2 separate regions of the Homo sapiens genome follow, and region 1 is linked to region 2. Evidence: promoter capture Hi-C in 16 types of primary human blood cells and fetal thymus (Javierre and others, 2016). All regions are on one chromosome and are shown on one strand. Each heading gives the region's core, a stretch centred on a gene start or on the middle of the fragment in contact. The rest is flanking DNA. Distances are from core to core; before and after follow the strand shown. Region 1 overlaps MIRLET7IHG (MIRLET7I host gene). Region 2 holds the start of CTDSP2-AS1 (CTDSP2 antisense RNA 1).

The links. The method cuts DNA at HindIII sites, captures the fragments that hold promoters and counts their contacts. A CHiCAGO score of 5 or more calls a contact.
Region 1: a contact is called between a fragment that was not itself captured here and the fragment with the promoter of CTDSP2-AS1 in region 2, in 1 of 17 cell types (M2 macrophages). The highest score is 7.6, in M2 macrophages.

What each region holds. Positions count from the first base shown.
Region 1 is chr12:62,605,747-62,608,446 of GRCh38, forward strand. The region is part of intron 1 of MIRLET7IHG (MIRLET7I host gene); the gene reads left to right. Among named protein-coding and RNA genes, the nearest start is that of MIRLET7I, 3.4 kb to the left of the region's middle. The HindIII fragment of the contact is 2,073 bases long and covers 332-2,404 here.
Region 2 is chr12:57,835,715-57,838,414 of GRCh38, forward strand. It overlaps CTDSP2-AS1 (CTDSP2 antisense RNA 1), which reads left to right and starts at 1,377. Exons shown (of 2, transcript NR_188077.1): 1 at 1,377-1,500. The region is part of intron 1 of CTDSP2 (CTD small phosphatase 2); the gene reads right to left. RefSeq lists enhancers at 1,607-1,676, 2,266-2,700, 2,467-2,576, 2,637-2,700. The HindIII fragment of the contact is 9,495 bases long and covers 1-2,700 here.

The DNA.
Region 1 (2,700 bases), core at 118-2,617, 4.8 Mb after region 2:
ATACAGCTTTCTGAACTTAGTATTATTGACATTTACTTGGTGCAGTTAACTTTTTTGTTAAAGGTCTGTTGTCAAGCATTTAAGTAATTTGTAGTTGTAAAAAGCCACTGGTGGAAAGTAATAAGGCAGTATTTTGAGTGCCCTTCTCAATAAGTACATACTAAACCAAAGGAAAGCTGGGTTATGGTAATAACATTTTAATAAATGTCATCCTCAATTGGAAATGGAGACTGTGTTATGGTATATAGGACACACCATATGGAGAAGATTCTTGGAGAACACAGTTTTGCTTCATACTTTAAAATTCCTGATTGCTAATCTTACATAGAAAAGCTTTGTTTACAAGCTATTTTAAAATAACCTTTTGGCAGGTAGGCAAGACTGACTGGCAAGGGTGCACTCAAGACATTGTGTCTTGTGGAGTGGTCCCCAAAGAATTCCTGACAGAGGCACCTGACAGCACAAATTAGCTCTTCAGTGTATAAGCACAAAGCACCAAAAAGGCTGAGATTTCTTCCTAGCTACATGCTCTCTCCCGCTATTGTTTATTACACTCCACCCGCTCCATGGTGAAGCTGACAAAGGAGATACTATTAATTTCCTTTCCCACTGAATAATCCCCTCTGTAATTTCTACAACAAAAGGTAAATAGGACAATCATCTTCGAAAATGAATTAGGCCAGATTGGTAGTACCCAAAAGGAGAATTAATGACCATTGTCATAAACTCTGAAAAGCTGTTGGCGCTACTGATAATCTAGATAATTAAGCAAAAATTTGAAAATTATTTCTAAGATTGTCTAATGAAGTTCACTAAGTGTTTTTGTTAGGTTATCACTATTGGGCACCATGGGGAAAGCAAAATAATTGTATAGCTAGGTCATTGCCCCAAAGGAAAACAGGAAAGATGTCACATGAAGTGTTTAAGAATCAAAATGTAATTAGCTGAGTGTGGTGGTGCCTGCCTGTAGTCCCCGCTGAGGTGGGAGGATCTCATGAGCCCAGGACTTTGAGGCTGCAGTGAGCCATGATTGCACCACTGCAGCCTGGGCAACAGAGTGAGACTGTCAAAAAAAAAAAAAAATCAATGTGAGCTCAGTGCAGTGATGTGCACCTATAATCCCAGGTACTCTGGAGGCTGAGGCAGGAGAGTCACTGGAGCCCAGTAGTTTGAGACCTGCCTGGACAAAATAGTTGAGATTCTGTCTCAAGAAATTAAATAAATAATCAAAATGTGGGCAGGTGAGAAAAACATTAGTGACCTACTTCACTTTTGAGACCTGGCAGAAAAGTGATTGAATGAGCTAAGGGGGAAGGGAAGTATGGAACACTTCAAATAGTATAGTAATTTAGGGAGTTCTTTTGGTTAGGTTTGTTGCCTGAGATCTTGGAGATGACAATCGCAGTGATAATGATACTCTAGGTGATTTACAGTTTAGTTTCATATTATCTGCTACAAATACGCTGGGAGTGTCATCAGAATTAAAAGAAATATTAGCAGTTCTACATGGAATTTATGTGTTTTCTTATCTCAAGTTGAAAATTTTTTTTTTGGTTAAATTTGTTTTACATTTACCTTTCTTTAAAAGTGCTGTTTTGTTCAGATGTAATGGAATTGTGCCTACACAGGATTTTTGGCCACTAAATTTGTGAATAGGGTCCTTTAAAGGCATACTATTGACACCCGATAGTGTAACTTTAGTCTTTTAGTTATATCAAATATGAACAAACCTAAGACACAATCTTGTGTTTTTAAGGATAAGTTCCTAGTTCTTTCCTCTTATTCAACATCAAACAACACTTACAGAAAATATTATTTTCTTCGAATCAGGTTTACAAATTCCGTTAGTTCCATTATAATATAATTGAGAGTATTTTATCATGGAAGTCAGGAGTTCGCAGAAAGCCAAGCTGTGTGATATGTCACAGAAAATTCAAGTAAATTAAGGACTAAAAACTGTCCACAGACATTGACAGTTTAGATCATATATGTAGTTGTAATGTGTTTTCTGTTATACCTGAAAAATCCCTTAACTGCTCTTAGGTTGAGTAATAAACAATTAACGGGTGTTTTATCTCACTTTGAACATAACTACCAAAAAGGTATTAAGATTCAGAGATTGCTGTTTTAATATTCTGCACATAGTGTATTTTAAAGCCCTTGTTAAACAGAAGTATTATGTAGATACAGGCATGGGCTAGTTTTAGTCATAATAGTAACACTGACTTAATGTTACCGTAATAGATGGCCGAAAGAGTTGACTAAACTCTAAAAACAGATACATAAGCAAATTAAAGTATATTTTTCTGTTTTAAAAACAAATTTACATACTTTTTAAGAGTTCGGACGAAAAACCTAAGAATAAGAATCCTATCTGCCATTCATTTCTTTTTGTAGTGAATGAAGCTTATACAGAATAAATAAGTTCCAGATAAATTCAACAGGTGAATCGGATACCTGCTCTATGTCAGGTGCTGGGAATATACAGAAGATAAAACAAAAACAAACACAAAAAAACCAACTCCACATTATGGAATTCACATTGTAAAAGGAATACATTTCCCTATAATAATAATTACAGACATGTAGTGAGGACAATCCATGGGCCACCTGAGTTGTTTTCAAACCTGAGTTCCACTCATACACCTGTTCTAGAGCCCTTGCTCCAAAACCACTATTGATATTCCAGTTGTATGTTTT
Region 2 (2,700 bases), core at 127-2,626:
CTGGTGGCTGAAGACAGGGAAACCAGGCCAGCCATCCAGCTCACTGCTGCGAGTCTTCCTACTGAGGCGGGGTGTGAGGAGAAGAGGGGATGTGAGGAGTATGCCCCCACTGAGGATCATCAGGGCTGGGGTCCAGGCTCTGCCAGTTACTGACTCAGCCACACAGCCTTTTGGAGCCTTAGTTTCCTCATCCATAAACTGGGATAACAGCAAGCCCTCACTCAGGACTGAAAGGATAAACGAAGTTAGAGAGTAAGGCACTGTGCTAACTCTAAAGCTAAATGCTGCGCTTGTTTTAATTAATTATCCAAGGGGAGATGACCACTAAATGGCAACATCATGGGCCTCATTCCAGGAGGCCAGCAACAGACCAGGAGCCCTCCCACCATCATCACGTGGATGAAGCCCAAGAAGATGAGGGAAAGGTGCCTGAGAGCTCTGATCATGAGCAGGTTTCAGAAAGTCAAAATAGCCCCTATACCTTCTCCCAAGTCCACAACAAAATTTGTTTTCCAGCTCACAAACTCCCTGACTGGGTATTCTGTGAAAAACAAAAGCAAGTAAGACTGTTTCACTTGAGACAAAAATCGCTGTCTCCCCTGGTATTCATCCCCACTACTCTCAAGAAGTACCAGGTAAGGACACTATTTGCCCCTATGCATGGGCCGGGGTAGGTGGCTCAAGCCTGTAATCCCAGCACTTTGGGAAGCTGGGCCGGTTGGATCACTGCAGCTCAGGAGTTCAAGACCAGCCTGAGCAACATGGCAAAATCCTGTTCTACCAAAAAAAAATTAGCCAGGTGCACCTGCAGTCCCAGCTTGGCAGGCTGAAGTGGGAGAATCACCGGAGCCCAGGAGTTTGAGGCTGCGGTAAGCCGTGATTGCACCACTGCACTCCAGCCTGGGTGACAGAGTGAGATTTTGTCTTTAAAAAAAAAAAGTGTACATGTACAAACACGTGAACACGTGCACACATACACACAAACGAAGACCAGAGTGACCAGGGCAACACTGTTTTTAATCTTCTCCTGAAAGTCAGGTCCAGATACCACTTTTGTCAACAACACAGCTTTGTGTCCCAGCAAAGGAACTCCTCACACATCTGCCTGCGATTCAGCAGAAGGTAACCTCTGAGACAATCAGATTTTAACAAGCCCATTCAGGTAGAAAGTTGCTTTCTTTTTTGGTTCATCCCCAGAAGTACTTCCTTCCCCACCACCTCCCATCCCCCACAGCAAAGGACTTAGCCTTAGCCTGGCTATCACTATAAAATGGCCCCTCTGAGGGGCCTCCTTCCTCTCAGCTATTGGAGGAAGGAGAGTATTTGGAGCATTTCCGGCCCTTCTTGGACGGCTGCCTGAACCCTGCAGCCAAGACACATTTGACTGGGACTCCCCCATGGAGAGAAGTCCTCCCAGGTCCTCTGCAAGGGGCATCTGTTCCTTGGCTATGGACATGCCCTAAAGTGCCAGGTGGACGGAAGAGCTCCTGGGACCAGCAGGTGAGTCGGCAGGGAACAAAAGAGGGTGAGATGCCTAGACAGCCCCCACACACAAAAGACTGCAAACAATGGGGAGGGTGTACTGCTTTCATGCCTGGCCACTGACACTGTTCTCTACAGCTAACAAGCAAGGCAGGGCCGGACCCAGCTTAGCACCGGCTCCCGAAGTTCCAAAAAGTAGCTGTGTATCTAACTGCATGGGCATTTTTTGAAAAAAGCAGTTTTAACACTTTGGGGGGCAAAGGCAGTGGGGATCACTTAAGGTCAGAAGTTCGAGACCAGCATGACCAATATGGTGAAACCCCATCTTTACTAAAAATGCAAAAATTAGCAGGGTATGGTAGTGAGCTCCTGTAATCCCAGCTACTCCGGAGGCTGAGGCACGAGAATCACTTGAATCCAAGAGGTGGAGGTTGCAGTGAGCCGAGATCACACCATTGCACTCCAGCCTGGGGGACAGAGCAAAACTCTGTCTCAAAATAAATAAATAAATAAATAAAATTTAAAAAATTAAAAAGCAGTTTTAGCCATGCTGTTTGGCCCATACCAGCATGTTGTATGCTGGTGCCCTCTCTGCACCAGCAACTGGGGCAGCTCTACCTAAGCCAGTGTCTCCATTAGTTCCCTTTCCCTGGGCAGGAGAGCTCCCTATATGGCTGTCTCTTCTTTCAGACCTGAGTCCTTAATGCCACCTGTGGGGCGAGGGTCACAGGTCACACACTTTCTTGTCTCTGCCCCTTCAGCAATCTGTTCTCTGACCTCAGCTAGAGAGGTAAGAGGACTCAGTTTTGGGAGCAGGGGATTTCTGGCAGTTCTAAAGCACGCTGATTTCAGAATCAGCCTCTAAAGGAGGTATTGCCAAAACACCCTCCTGGGCAGCTCCAACGTACTTTAAAAACGTGCTGGGTTGGGGTGGGCCTCCATAAGTAGCAGATCCTGGACCAGAGACAGAGGAGGCGTTTCCTCATAGACAAGTCAGCTGCAGGCTCAGCCCTGCAAGCCCCACTCCAGAGGACTCTTGAGGGATGTCAGGAAGTGATCTAATAGCCCACAGGGCAGCAGGGACAAGCCTGAGATGCCATCCAAGAAAACTCAAAGGACTGGATCCTGCCCCTGCCTCAGCAGGAGACCCTGCCCTATGTAGCACCAGCCAGAGCAAAGGTATCATTGTGAGGGATTGGAAACCACACTTGCCTACCT